Regions from separate parts of the Homo sapiens genome. Here region 2 is linked to region 1. Evidence: promoter capture Hi-C in 16 types of primary human blood cells and fetal thymus (Javierre and others, 2016). All regions are on one chromosome and are shown on one strand. The core of a region is centred on a gene start or on the middle of the fragment in contact, and the rest is flanking DNA. Distances in the headings are between cores, read along the strand shown. Region 1 holds the start of REEP1 (receptor accessory protein 1). Region 2 has its middle 45 kb from the start of KDM3A.

Region 1 (7,823 bases), core at 1,680-4,179:
TGAATCAGGGATGAGGAGCCCAGAGCCCATCTGCTCAGGCTGGGTGGCCCTCAGGGAACCCAGTTTGAAAACCACAGGAGTAAATTAAGTCTGAGAGCCCCTCTCATAGGGTTCCCGGGGAGGACAGAAGGAGGGACTCATCATTGATTTAGTGCTCTCCGTGGTGCTTGGCAATTTATATATCAAGTGTCATGGAAATCTTTGCAACAGCAACATGAGGTTAACTAGCTGTGGACTAGCATCTGCTCTGATCTGAGTTGTGAACTGGGATCTTCTGGCAAGAGGCAAAACTGGGATTTGAACCATGGGCGTTCTGACTCCAAACACAGTATTCCTCCCCTTGATAAGAAGTTCCTCAAGGTATGTGGAGTGTAGAATATTGGGCTGAATCAATAATATCCTTGAATTACAAATATATGTACATATATGCAATACAGGAAAATTTCTTGAAGAATATGCCCTCCATCATTATTATTAGTTATCTCTGTGTGGTGGAAATGTGGATGATTTTCAGTTTATCTTTTCTAATTTTCCTGTAATTAACAAATATTGTCTTCATGAAACAGGTATTGCTTATTAAAAATGATGTTCATAACTCATAATCAATATGCTTATGCTAGGTTTCTACAGGGAATTAGGGACTGGGGGATAAGTGGTATCCCTGACCTTTTGGACTTGATAGTGGAAGTAACAATCCCAAATCCCATCAACTCTCCTTGGGCCACATAATGCTGTTCATTTAAATTCTCTGAAGTCTCGGTTCTAGGGAGTGTGGTTGTTTTAGAAAGCAACAGCACATCCCTGAGACACCTCCCAAATATATGCCTCTCCTCTCCACCCCCATCAGTTGCTCATTGTAAAAAAGGGGGAGGAGCCGGGCGTGGTAGCTCACGCCTGTAATCCCAGAACTTTGGGAGGCCGAAGCGGGCGGATCACTAGGTCAGGAGTTCAAGACCAGGCTGGCCAACATGGTGAAACCCCGTCTCTACTAAAAATACAAAAATTAGCTGGGCGTGGTGGCAGGCGCTTGTAATCCCAGCTACTCGGGAGGCTGAGGCAGGAGAATCGCTTGAACCCAGGAGGCGGAGGCTTCAGTGAGCCGAGACTGTGCCACTGCACTCTCCAGCCTGGGCGACAGAGCGAGACTCGGTCTCAAAAAAAAAAAAAAAAAAAGGGCAGGGGTGAGGGAGGTGCTAATAAAACTAATGATAGTCACATGACCCAGTGCTAATAAAACTAATGATAGTCACATGACCCAGGATCAGATGCCCTCACTCCCAGCCCAGCAGGACCTACAGAGAGCCCACCAGCCAGGCCAGCTCAACTCTCCAGCCCCACCCTGAGGGCTTCCCAGAAGCCACTGGCAATATCGATCCCAGAGAGGAAACACCACCCTGAAGGCAAGACAGTGTTGGTCAGGCATGAGGCTGGGCAAGGCGTGTCAGCCACTTTCCTGTATTATTCATGTCGGCTCTGCCAGCAGAAATCTTCTAAATATTTAACATGCCACCTCAAGGTGCAGCGCAAACACCCCGCAGTCAGGAACAGCTGTGGAGAGGCCTTCACGGAATGACTTGGGGGCTGAGAGGCACAGACACTGGCTTTGGGAGGAAAGCCCTGAATGGTGGCGGGAGACAATGCTGAGATCCACTTCGGAAGGGAAAATCAGTAAAGAAGGGAAGGGAGATGGGTGGTGTTTCAAAACGTGGGGAGTGATGGTGCACAATCACTGGGGTCCAGAGCCCCGTGTTCTCAGACAAAGAAAAAGCCCGAGGTGCCTGCCACCCTCCTCCCCGCCTTAGACTCCCCACACCCATTTCAGCCCCTGCTAGCTACAGCAGGTGGCAAATCTGTTCTGACTCAGGCCAGGATGGTTAGGGAAGAACAGGGACTTGGAACAGCCACGTCTATCTCCAAAGGAGAATAAATCCACCGGGGAAGCTCTTCAAACGCCTACAGGTCCTGGGGCTTGAAGGAGAAAATCGGCCCCCACGCCCACCCCCAATGACTTCACACAGACCTCACCCTAGATGACTCTGCGCTCTCCTGCAAGGCCTGGGAGGTGTCATCGCCACCATGCGGGTGGCTGTCACTTGAAAATTTCCCGTGCATTCCTGGAGGTACCTGCCCCTGTCTCTCAATCCCCTGCAAAAGGAGTCGGAGCCGGGGGCTCCAGGCGTTTACTCCAAGATTCACATGCGTCTTCCCATGTCCCAGCTGCCTTTGCCGCTGTCGATGCAGACACCTAAAAAGGAGGATTTTTCCAACCCCACTGGGAGCCCCGCCTCTGCCTCTCCACCCGTTCCGCGCTGACCCTCCAGGCAGCGCCCCTGGTTCGTCTGCGCTGTCCTTTCCACCTGACAAAAGCTGGGGCGGCGGGGCGCGGCGCCGGGCGACCTCACATTTCTGCCAAAGGAGAGAGACGCGTGTCCGCGGTGCGCCCATTCGGGGCCTCTGCAAATCGACCGAGCTGAGGAACAAAGCGGCCAGCGCGCGGCGAGACGCAGCCCCCACGGAACCCCCGAGCGCCCCAGCCCTCGCCGTCCCGGCCCAGCCCCCCGCAAGCGGCCGCCGGCGCCGGCTGCCTCCTGGGCAGCAGCCGCGTCCTGCGCCGCCCGTCCGCCCGCAGGCGTCCTCGGCGGCTACTGTACCTGCTAAATTTAGCTGCGCCGGGTATTAATAGCCCGAGCCACTGGGACCGGGCGCTGTAGGGGCGCGCGCAGCCCGGGGCCGGGGGCGGGGAGGGAGGGGACGGAGGGGCGCGGGGGAGAAGGCCACTTACACCACCAGCCTGGAGATGATCCATGACACCATGGCGGGCAGGCGGGCGGGCGAGGCCCGGGCGGCGCGGCTCGGCTAGGCTGCGGGCGGCGCGGGCTGCTGCGGCGTTCCCGGAACGTCAGTCAGCTCACGGCAGCCGCCGCCAGACTGAGCGCGCCCGCCGCCCTGCCCGGCGTTCGCGCGTTGGCGCAGCCGCGGCACGTTCTGGCGGCGGCGGCGGCGGCCCCAGCCCCCCGGGGCTCGGCGGGCCCGCAGCGATTGGGCGGTGAGCTGGTCAGGGCACCCGCGGGCCCGCCCCGTCCCGCTCGCCCTGGCCCCCGGCTGAAGGCGGGCGCGTCCTGCGCGCTCCCCGGGGCACCGGCCCCGCCAAAGGAACCCTGCAGCGGCCCCGTTTGCAGGGCAGGGACCCGGGTGCTGCCCCACCCTCAGCGTTCCAGCGGAGAAACTGAAGTCCGAACCTGAACCTCGGGAATCTGTCTGCACCTGTCTAGGTGGGATGCTGTCATCCCTCATTCAGCTAGTGCGTTAGCCTCATAAAGGGTTTACCTGGATCCAGACCTAACCTCTTCAGTCTGTCCGTTGCTCAGCACTTTCTGCATAAGAAACAAACCTGGGCGCTTGCCTCCCTACTTAAAATTCTACAGAGTCCCTATATGATCGTGGTACCTGCCTAGAACCGTGTTGCCAAGACCATTCCCCCAAATAGTCCTCTAGCTCTTTTCCCTCCAGGCATCTTGGACTCAAATATTTGCTGTTTCTTCTTCCCTGTCAGTACACGCCACGCCTCATCGTCCTGCCTTGGTTTGATTCAGCTCCTTCTTCTAGGCTGGGCTGAAGGGCTACTTCTTCCTAGGGAAGGCCTTTCCTTGGGGGCTGCTCCGGGCCCTAGGAGGAGACTAGAAGCTGCGACTGCTTAGCACCAGTGCCCCGCTGAGCCACGTTGAACTCTTAGGCAAAAGGGAACTTGTGCACCCTATATAAACGTTTTTATGTATTTTTTAAAATACCGTATTAAATATTATGGTGGTTTTTTTTGTTGTTGTTGTTTTTTTATGAGACAGAGTCTCGCTCTGGGGTGCAGTGGCGCGATCTCGGCTCACTGCAAGCTCCGCCTCCCGGGTTCAAGCGATTCTTCTGCCTCAGCCTCATGAGTAGCTGAGATTACAGGAGTGCGCCACCACGCCCAGCTAATTTTTGTATTTTTAGTAGAGACGGGGTTTCACCATGTTGTCCAGGCTGGTCTCAAACTCCTGACCTCGTGATCCGCCCGCCTTGGCCTCCCAAAGTGCTGGGATTACAGGAGTGAGCCACCTATTATGTATTTTAGTTGCTGAATTTTATGGCACCTCTTAAATGTTGCACCCTCACTGAGCGCCTCACTCTGCTCACCCTAGTCCCGGCCGCAGATAGTACATTATTCTGTTACACTGGAAACGCTTTGTCCTCTACTCCTAGGCTCTGCTGCTGCTTTTCCCACCCTCCAATAGCTTAGGTTCTGCGTGGTGCTCCCAGCGCCCTGTCCTTTGCTGATGATGGTGTCATGTATAATTCAGTGTCAGATGTGAGAAGCGCAGGAGACAGCTTAGTACTCTCAGATGTAGCAGAATCTGTGCGTGCGTGTGCCTGATATAGTCAGAAGAAAGACTTCACGGACAACAAAGGGACTGCAGATGAGACATGCTCTCATATCTCAGGTCTCCAAAGAACCCATAAAATAGCTGTAATGTAGCAGTTTTTTCATGCTGCCTTGACCCAGTTTTGAGGCTCAGGCTGGAGGCTGGTCAGTTCCCCTTCTCCAGCAGTCTATTAACTGCATACCCCCAACCACTTCCGTTAGCAGGCTCTCACACGCGGGACACTATACACCTGTCCAGGGCTAGGCACCAAACAACTAGTTACAGCCCCTGTACTTCAGAACCCGCTGAAATTATCCAAATTAGCCTATCCTATATCTGCTTGCCTTATTTCACTCTTTCCTTCCCTCAGAAACCATGATAAAGATGTTTGTCCACAATTCCCCTCTCTCCCTCTCTCTGTGACAGACCCTGGCCCTGAGTGGACCTGCATGGTGTGCTGTGATCTCTCCAGGAAACTGTGGATATAAAAAGCTCTAAAACTCTTTCTAGCTTCTCTCTCTTGATCTGTGTCTGGCCCCACCATATCTCACTCAAGGTAAGGTTATACGGGTAAAACAATGCTCCACGGGGAAAAGCTTTCCATACTTACTAGGCAAAGAGAACACCAAAGCTAGATCAGGACAGCACCCAGCACAGAGGACCTTCCTGAGACCTCCCTTCCCCTCCATCCATACCCCTCACCTATGCTCCCTGCGTCAGAAAGGCTGTTACCCATCTTGCAGGGGGAGCAGCGGAGGGATGGACTACTGTGGTTCAAAGAGACCCTGTTGGTGGGAAAATAAAGAAGAGGTGACCACATGCTTGTTCCCTACTCCCTATAAGTGGAATTCTCAGATTTGACTATTGCACAGGACTGAGCATTTTAATTACCAAAATGAAACTATTCATGGGGTTAAAATATCTTGAGGTCTTTTCATTAGCTGAAGAGGACCAGAAAACTAGTGAGACCAACACATATTTCTCACAAGGGATGAGAAAGAACTTGTCCATAGAGCGGACTTGGATGGGTAGAGGAGGGAAAAGAAGAAAGAAAGAAAGAAAGTTGCTTTTGTACTGCATTCTGTCTCTTTCAGTGTAACTGTTACACTTATTGTATCTCTCTATCCTGGACCTGCTCTTGTTTGTCCTTGGCCCTGGAAAACATGTGGCCAGGGAACGGACTCCACCTTCTAGACAATGGAACTCTTACAGCTCTATCAGTTTCTTGACTTCAAGTTCTTTTTCATAAGAACTGCTTTGATAATAGATGTCTCTCATCTGTTTTTACCCTGTACCCTTCCCCTTTCTTCTGGGAAGAGCTCTCTGTTTTTCACTGGGGAATGAGTCTCCCCATACTCCAACCTTAGAAACTGTGATTTTCTTATATATCCTCACTACCTTGATTGGCTTATGGGTGATCACCAAACAGAAACTGGGCCAACGATCTCCCTTGGGATTTTTAAAGTTGAAAATAGAAAAAAGAGAATTCCACTTTCTTCTATGAAGCATTGGCTGCTGTGGGAATTGTCCTCCCATTGCAAACAACTAGAAAAACAGGATCAAAAAAAAGAAACAACTGTTTTTCTTTACTTGTTTGTTTGAGACGGAGTCTCACTCTGTCGCCCAGGCTGGAGTGCAGTGCTGTGATCTCGGCTCACTGCAAGCTCCGCCTCCTAGGTTCACACCATTCTCCTGCCTCAGTCTCCCGAGTACCTGGGACTACAGGTAGCCACCAGTATGTCCAGCTAGTTTTTTGTATTTTTAGTAGAGATGAGACGGGGTTTCACCGTGTTAGTCAGGGTGGTCTCGATCTCCTGACCTCGTGATCCACCCTCCTCGGACTCCCAAAGTGCTGGGATTACAGGTGTGAGCCACCGTGCCCGGCAAGAAGCAACTGTTTTTAAGCATTGAACAACAGAGCACAGGACTGTGATAACTAAGAGAAGAGAAACAAATGAAGTGAGTCTTACGTCCGAGCTTACTGTCTCAAAGCAGTTTCCAGGCATCACTGTAGGGATGGAGAACCCAAACAGAGCCCAGAAATTTCACAGAACACAGGAGACAGATCAGAGTCCAGGGAAGCCAAAGTGGCTAGAATTTGTGAAGCAGAATATAAGAGTGATGGGAGATGATTAGAGAGAGAGTTGCAGAGATCTGCAGAGCAGTCACTTCAAGTCATTAGCTGAATACTGTCCTAGGCATGCATGGGTGAAATTCTATGAGGCCATGGGAAGAACTACCAGAAAGCAGTATGCCAAACAATTCCTGGAGCTCACACAGGGCTGGAAGTAATTTGTCTTCATACCAGCCAAAACAGAGACCTTTTATACACAAAGCATTGGCCAGAGTCCACAGAAGGGTATCATCTTAATGCAGGGGGAGGCTAAATTAGCCCTAAAATAAACACTTATCTGGTCCTGCCTTAACAAAACTTAAAAGCAATCTTCAAAAGGATCAAATTGATCTCAAGTAACTTAACTGTGCTCAGAGAAAAAAAAAAGTCCAAGATTAGTTACAAAACAAACAACAACAAAACCCAACACCCAATAAGATAAAATTCACAATGTCCAACATGCAAACAAAAATTATCAGGCATGCAAAGAAAATGACTTGTAAGCAGGTTGAAAAATCAACCAATAGAAACAGACCATGAAGTGACAGAAATAATGCAATAAGCAAATAAATACCTTCAATTTTATAATATTTGAACAGACATTTCACCAAAGAAAAAATACAAATGGAAAAACAAAAAGTACATGAAAAAAATATTCAACATCATTAATCATTAATTAGGGAAATACAAATTGAAATCACAAGAAGATATTACTGCACACATTTAAGAATGGCTACAATGAAAAAGACTGATCATTTCATGTTCTGGCAAGGATATGGAGCAACTGGAACTCTCATATGCTGCTGGTGGGAAAGTAAAATGATACTACTTTGAAAAATGGTTTTCTATATTTCAAAAAAAGTGGAAATTACTTTTGCCTCACACCCTTCCCCTTTCTTCTGGGAAGAACTCTCTACTTTTTTTGGTGAATGATTCTCCCCATGTTCCAACCTTAGAAACTGGTCAGACAGTTTCTTTTTTTTTTTTTTGAGATGGAGTCTGGCTGTGTTCCCCAGGCTGGAATGCAGTGGCACGATCTTGGCTTACCACAACCTCTGCCTCCCAGGTTCAAGCAACCCTCCTGCCTCAGCTTCCTGAGTAGCTGGGATTATAGGCATGTACCACCACACCCAGCTAATTAATATATTTTAGTAGAGACAGGGTTTCACCATGTTGGCCAGGCTGGTCTCGAAATCCTGATGTCAGGTGATCCACCCACCTCAGCCTCCCAAAGTGCTGAGATTACAGGCGTGAGCCACCATGCCCGGCCCAGTTTCTTTTATAATTACATATACACTTACATATGACTTAGA
Region 2 (7,823 bases), core at 1,540-4,039, 57 kb after region 1:
CTTACTGTAGCCTTGTAGTATAGTTTGAAGTCAGGCAGCATGATGCCTCCAGCTTTGTTCTTTTTGCTTAGGATTGTCTTGGCTATATGGGCTCTTTTTTGGTTCCATATGAAATTTGGAACTCCTGACCTCAGGTGATCCACCCACCTTGGCCTCTCAAAGTGCTGGGATTACAGGCATGAGCCACCACACCCAGCCAATGATGAATTTTTTAAGAGAAAATAGCATTAGGAAGAATTAAAAGGAAGGCAAAGCCTCTGAAAGATCCAGAGGAAAATTTTAGGAAAGAGTTTGACCATAACCATGTTTTGGCCACTGGTGTATGGCATATACTGCATGCTATGGGGCAGCACCCTAGCCTCCCAGCTGTCACTGTAACTGAGCCCTCCACAGGCCATTCCACTGTTTAATCAAGCCAGCTGATTTGGGGTGATGTGTAGCACATGGCAAAAACAGTGAATTCTATAGATACAAGTAATGAGCTCACGTCTATAGAATGCCCTTCACCATAAAATGATCTCCTTAATAAAGGCAATTTTGTGTGAGTTGCAGATGTTGAGTAAGGCATTATTTAAGCCCACAAATGGTGCTGGCAGAAGGACTTCTATGGTGGGCATAGAAGACAAACTCGTATCTTGAATAAGTATCTATTCCCATAAAGACAAATTGCTGTCTCCTCCGCAATGGAAAATGTCCAGTATAATCAACCTAAGACATTGGGGCTGGCTGGCAGCCCAAGGATAGGTGTCATAATGAGGCCCCAGTGTTATCTCTGCTGTTAGAACATTGGGCACCCAGCAGTGACGTTAGCTAGATTAATCTTGGCGAGAGGAATCCAGCTTGGTGAGCTCATGTAAAATCTACCCCTGCCACCGTGGACATTTTGTTTATGGGCCCATTGAGTAAGCATCAAAATGTTTAGGGAAAGGAAATCACTTTCAGCCACACATGGGTTGTTTTGTGCACTCCACTAGACCACAGAGAGCTGCCTCTTCAGTAGATGCCCTTTGGTGAGCATTCATAGTGGTTACAAATATGTACATTTTTAGTGCCTGTTTTGAAGAGTTAATTCACATACTTCCTGAAGACTTCCTTGTCACTAGTCTTCCAATCTTGCTCCTCAGAAGTCAGTGACCACTCTTCTAATCCATTAATCCTTGATCATAAATTGGTATAGTTGCATACTCCAGGGCATCTCGCCTTCTACAGTAAGTGGACAACAGATGTACTGCTTAAAATTCTGCCTATTAAGAGGATTTCCTTTCACCCTTGCCTTTCAGACTCACTCTTCAGGGGAGCTGTAAAACAGCAGCTGTTCACTTGCAGCCCTATCATGCAGACCCACTGCAAACCAAGCCTGTGCTTTTTCTTCTTCTGTCAGCTAGTCCTAGGCAACTCCCCTTGAGGCCACTGGTGTGGGCTGAGAGAGGTGGTAAAGTAGTAGAAGCAAAAAATGTGGGAGGGTGAGCCACCTGCTTATGCAATATTCTTGAGCCTTTTATACCTGCTTGGGCCTTATCTTGTAAACACCATTTCCATTTTATACTGAGTACTGCTGCACATTCCAATTTTATGACTCAGTGGATTAGATAATGCCCAGTTCACAATGGACAGTTTGAGTTGCCTAGCTTGCCATAGTCAGGATTCAGACTCTATCAGGGACTAAATTCAGCCTTGTTCTGGGAATTGGTGCCTAGGTCTTGTGGTTTCATGGGGTTTTCTGGACTCTCTAAAGTTGGCACAGGGCTTCCTGTATGCAAAAGAAATCCCTACACTAAAGACTTCCCTGACATGATTGTGTTGCTGCATAAACTGTGATAATAATGACTAACCTGACTTTCACTTTTATTTAGTTAAGCTTCATAACAATTTGGTGAAGTAGGTTTTATGTTCTCCATTTAATCAGAAGAGAAAAACCTTGATACAGCTCTAGAGGTTAAATGCCTTGTCTGAGGCTACATGGCTCACAAGTGGTGACAGCTGGAGTCAGACTGCCAACTGCAATACTGTCCCCTTGGCCACCCGAAGTAGCTTCCCAAAGGCATATTTATATCAGCCACCTGCAGAGTCCTTTCAGTGCACAGAGACAAATTAGATTCATCTAGCCTGGGCCAAGGTATAGGGCATAGAGTAGGGTAGGTAAAGGCAAGGATATCAGTGGGTCTTGGTACAGGATGATTTTGTTGAATTCCTAAGGACCACATTCTCAATGGTGATGCCCACATTATAATATATACTGAAGCAATTATTGATAAAATGATATAATTTCTAAAATTTGCTTTAAATTAGCCAGGAAGAGAGAAACCAGTGATGAAATAAGATTGGCCATGTGTTGATAACAGTTGAAGCCTAGTGATGAAAATATAGTTCATTATACTGTTTTTCCACATACTAAAAAGTAAAAAATATATTCTATTCACCATGGCAGACCACATTATGGGCCATGCACCTATCTTAGCAAGTTTAAAACAACAGAAACTACACAATATCTGCTCTCAGACTACAATAGAATTAAATCAGAAATTGATAAAAGAAAGATAGCTAGGGCCGGGCACGGTGGCTCACGCCTGTAATCCCAGGACTTTGGGAGGCTGAGGCGGGTGGATCACGAGGTCAGGAGTTCGAGACCAACCTGGTCAACATGGTGAAACCCCATCTCTACTAAAAACACAAAAATTAGCCAGGCATGGTGGCACGCACCTGTAATCCCAGCTACTCGGGAGGCTGAGGCAGGAGAATTGCTTGAATCCAGGAGGTGGAGGTTGCAGTGAGCTGAGATCATGCCACTGCACTCCAGCCTGGGTGACAGAGCAAGACTATGTTAAAAAAAAATCATTATTTTGTTGTAAATCCAATATTGTTTTAAATTATTTAAATGTCACTTTAAATGTTGTTATAAATCCAGTTCTCTTCACTCCGCATCAAACAAGGCAAGGTGTGATCACACAGACTATTTGGGGGTGGGTGGCTGTGGGTCGTCATCTCCACAGTGCTTGGTTTCTCTTCTCAAATCTACAGCTTGGAGTAGGTTGATTTCCCTGCCTGTTTCCCAGGGAAGCGTTGCACTACCCATATGGCAGCTTTCTCATACTCCCTGTCTGCATTCCTCTGTTTCCCTAAATGAATGGAATATCTTGGATGAACTACTGCAAGGTCCTTTGGGTCTCTCCCACACAGTTTTGGCTCACTGCAACCTCTGCCTCCTGAGTTCAAGCGATTCTCCTGCCTCAGCCTCCTGAGTAGCTGGGATTACAGGTGCCTGCCACCACACCTGGCTAATTTTTGTATTTTTAGAAGAGACTAGGTTTCACCACGTTGGCCGTGCTGGTCTCGAGCTCCTGATCTCAGGGGATCTGCCCGCCTCGGCCTCCCAAAGTGCTGGGATTACAGGCATGAGCCACCACACCTGGCCCGATAATTCTTTACTCCTAGAACTAACTTCCCAAGATGTACTATACACACACTCACTTCCCCCAACCCCCACTCAACATACACATACACAAGACTCACTTACTGCCCCATTCCCTGGAATTGGTAGCCTCTATCTCCAGAAATATGGGATGTGAGAATGGAGGGTATAAAAGAGAAGGGAAGTGTACAAAAAATGCACAAAGTGCATAAATAAATATCCAAGGGATTTAGAGGGTGGATTAAATGCCAGCTTTTGTTCTTCCTATGTTTTGTGTGTCTGAGCCCAAGGACAAAACCTAGATGGAAGAATCAAGCTTGCTTACTTACATCCAGCACTCAGAAGGCAAAGCTGGGGTTCGTACCAGGAGCTGTAGCTTGGGTGCTTTCCTCAAAATGGTTATATCTGCCTCATAATCAGATCCCAATTTATCTGTCTATTGATTGCCTGTTGGTCGTAGTTTTCAGTGCTGCTGCAAGATCTGGTTATTTTCTTCATCTTCGTGGACAAAACACTGGAGGCAGTATTTTGAGGACTGCTACTCCTTCCCATGCTATTCAATAAATCTCCCCCAGTTCAGTCAGAAACACTGAGAAGTTACCCTGTGCCAAGCCCTGGATCAGGTGGCACAGGCTCCATGATCATTGTGTATGGGTGAGCTCATAGTCTAGAGCCAGTGCCAGCCGTGGGACTCGGTTAATGCCTCAGCAAACCTCCTGGCTCTCTGCCCCCCACCCCCTTCGCCCTTCGCTGACTTTCCCTTCATGACCCTGGTCTTTCCGTTGTGCCCGTTTCTATTTGCATAGACAAATACTTTAGCTATGCACCTATCTTGATTCTAGAAACTTAGGCTGTGTTTCAAGAAATGGATTGTTGTGGTCTCCATTTTGCCTCTGGAGCAGTGCATAGTCCACAGGGAGGCAGCATAGTCCACAAGCCAGGGTCCATGCTGAATTCCAGATAGAGATAGCAGCTGTGTGGCCTTGAGCTTCATGTCTCCAGCTCCCTCATCTGTCAAATGGGGATAATAATGTGCACCTGATAGAATTTTGTGGTAAGAAAATGAGAGGAAATATATTACAACACAAAGCACAGTCCCTGAAACAAAATGAAAGCTGTATAATACTCTTTTTCTTCCCCATCTTATACATAATGTGAAAACATTCCCTAAAAAACTTGGTTTTGGTCGGGCGTGGTGGCTCATGCCTGTAATCCCAGCACTTTGGGAGGCCAAGGCGGGTGGATCATGAGGTCAGGAGATCCAGACCATCCTGGCTAACACGGTGAAACCCCGTCTCTACTAGAAAATACAAAAAATTAGCTGGGCGTGGTGGTGGGCACCTGTAGTCCCAGCTACTCGGGAGGCTGAGGCAAGAGAATGGTGTGAGCCCGGGAGGCAGAGCTTGCAGTGAGCCGAGATTGCGCCACTGCACTCCAGCCTGGGCAACAGAGCGAGACTCCATCTCAAAAAAAAAAAAAAAAAAAAAAAAAAGAAAGAAAAAACAACTTGGTTTTGCCAGTATGACCTGTGAAGCTTTTCTGTATTCCTAGAAAAGAGTATTGTGTGAGTTGGATGACTGTGTGTGTGTGTGCACGTACACTCGGTCACACATGCACACTCTCCAGGTCTGCTAAATGGGGAATGCTAAAGTTAGTCTATTTTTGTTTGTTTGTTTGTTTGTTTGTTTGAGATGAGGTCTCACTCTGTCTCCCAGGCTGGAGTGCAGTGGCGTGATCTCAAGATCTCCTCCTGGGCTCAAGTGATTCTCACACCTCAGCCTATCAAGTAGCTGGGATCACAGGTGCACACCACCATGCCCAGCTAATTTTTGTATTTTTTGGTAGAGACAGGGTTTTGCTATGTTGGCCAGGCTGATCTCAAACTCCTGAGCTCAAGCGATCCTCCCACCTTGGCCTCCCAAAGTGCTGGGATTATAGGCATGAGCCACCATGCCTGGCCACCAAACTTAGTCTGTGTGTGTATGTGAGTATGTGATGTGCATATGCTCGTGCACACTTGCATGCCTGTCTTGGAGAAAAGAAATGACTCAGTTAAATTTGATTCGGATAATTGTCTAATAAATTAGTCTTTAATCAATCAGCAGGTCTTCCTAAAACCCTCACTTGCTCTAGATGCCAAGAGGCACAGATTGATAGAAAATATATCTTCTGCCTACAAGGATTTGCTGGTCAAAACTCTTTAAATTAGCTTAGGCACAAGGGTAAAATGTATTGGCTCAGGGAGAAAGACTATAGAAAGAGTAGGTTCAGCTGGATCCAGGGCTTAAACCGCCAGGACTCTCATACTGTCCTTGGGGCTCTGTTCTTATCTCCTTGCTAGCTTTGTTTTCTTAGACTGGCTTCTCCATAAGATAAGGGATGTGGCCGTGGGCAGTCCCAGCATTACATCCACACCGTGTGCAACCACAGCTCTCCTTTCCAAGTTTGAATGATAAAAATCTAACAAGAAAACTCTGATTGGCCAGGCTTAGGTCATGTGTCAATTCCCGGCCCAAACCAAGCCCTTGGGAGTTAATACTCCACTTGTGTCACCTGCATTCACTGGTGGCCAGAACACAGAGTATCACAAATGGCAGACTCATGTGGCTAGGGGGCAGTTTCCCGGAAGAAGGATGTTGCTATTATGAGCAGATGAGATAAATAATTACCTACGACACAGATGCATGCTAAATTTTGCAGTGGAGGAAATTAAGTCAGTGAAATAGTAAGTCGGTATTTTTTGAATTCTATTTTGATGGTGTCGGTGATATATTTATATAACTTTTACCCAGTTGGAACAAGCTATTTGCTTTTTGATAATATAAATGAACCACTTTAGTCAAAGTTTCATAAAAAAGGTATATTGATCCAGTTATTTTCAGCAAATTACTGTGGTTTTACAGCTCAATGCATGCCCATGAGATGAGTATTTTCTCATTTACTTTATAGTAACCTTTGTTAAGAGACTTATTAAGTCATAGCTTGTGGTACAAAGAATTTAAGTCATCTCTCCTCTCTATTCCACAAATGTCTAGGGCTTCTTTCTTTTTTGACCACTAATGCCTATAATTTCCAGTATTAATATCTTCTGACATGAACACGATAACATGAATCTACTAGATATAAACAGATGTAACAGCCATGGAATCCATTAGTGATGCTTTCAGAAAAAGAAATTTGGGATCCCAGGATCTGTCCCAACATTTGTAATATCTTGGGATAGGACCAGAAATTATGCAAGACTAAATAGAAGGCATGGATGGTCTTGGACTTACATATGGACTCAACTTACTGAGGTGGTGGTGAAATGGGGAGAGAGTGAATGAGTCAAGAATTGCAGAGACAAGATCAAGAGGCCTTGGCAACTGCTTGGGAAGGGGAACAAAGTAGAGGGAGGAGCCTGAGATGACACTGAAGTGGGGTGGAGGAGCAACTCACAGAACTAGGAGACAGGGAGGGGAAGCAGGTTGGAGGAAGAGTCCATTCCAGACACGGTGAAGACGAGCTACCAGGATTTGTTGGTAATATGGGAGATTTGTTGGTAATGCGAGATTGAAGCTCAGGAGAGAAAACAGATACTGGCTGAGCCATGATGGCGAGTAAGATCAGCAAGTCAAAAAGTGTAGAGAGAGAAGAGAAGACAAAGGAACTTTGAGGAACACTCCCTTAGTGACTGGAGGAAGTACTTGGAGCCAGAGAAAGAAGCAGAGAAGGAGCATCAGAGAGAATGCAGACACTGGAGAATGCCGTGTCGCATTAAAGAGCTTTGGAAGGAGAGTGGCCCATGGTGTCAAATGTGAAGAGGAGCCTGAGAAGGAGTCCCTGAAGCCAAACTGGAAAGTCTCTGCTAGGTTGGTGCAATGGACTGAAAGTGTGTGTCCCCCCACCCCACAAATTCTTATGTTGAAGCTCTAATCCCAGTGTGATGATATTAGCAGTTTGTGCCTTTAGGAGGTGATAAGGTCATGAAGGTGGAACCCTCATGAATGGGATTTGTGCCCTTATAAGAAAAGGTCAGAGAGTTAATACACTCTCCCTCGTGAGGATGTAAGAAGTCAGCTGTCTGTCACTGGAGGAAACCCTCACCCGAACCCAACCATGCCAGCACCTGTTCTCTGATTTCCGGCCTCCAGAACTGTTAAATTTGATTCAGATAATTTAAGAAAACTGTGAGAAATAAATTTCTGTTATTTATAAGCCACCCAGTATATTACTCTTCATTACAGCAGCCCAAAGGGACTAAGAAGGTTGGGCTTCCCTCATTTAGGAGAGATTCCTCAGAAGCAGTCTTGTGCAGTCGACTTATTCCAGAAGACATCTCTGAGGGTGTGGGGGGCAGCAGGACGGGGAAAGGTGTAGTACACTGGAAGAGGCATATCATGGCTATAAGATTAATGGCAGCCATAAGGCCCAC

Evidence for each region. The method cuts DNA at HindIII sites, captures the fragments that hold promoters and counts their contacts. A CHiCAGO score of 5 or more calls a contact.
Region 2: a contact is called between a fragment that was not itself captured here and the fragment with the promoter of REEP1 in region 1, in 1 of 17 cell types (total B cells). The highest score is 5.5, in total B cells.

Annotation. Positions count from the first base shown.
Region 1 is chr2:86,334,697-86,342,519 of GRCh38, forward strand. It overlaps REEP1 (receptor accessory protein 1), which reads right to left and starts at 2,930. Exons shown (of 9, transcript NM_001371279.1): 1 at 2,783-2,930. The coding sequence starts at 2,814. The HindIII fragment of the contact is 12,312 bases long and covers 1-4,991 here.
Region 2 is chr2:86,392,298-86,400,120 of GRCh38, forward strand. No RefSeq gene overlaps it. Among named protein-coding and RNA genes, the nearest start is that of KDM3A, 45 kb to the right of the region's middle. The HindIII fragment of the contact is 1,867 bases long and covers 1,857-3,723 here.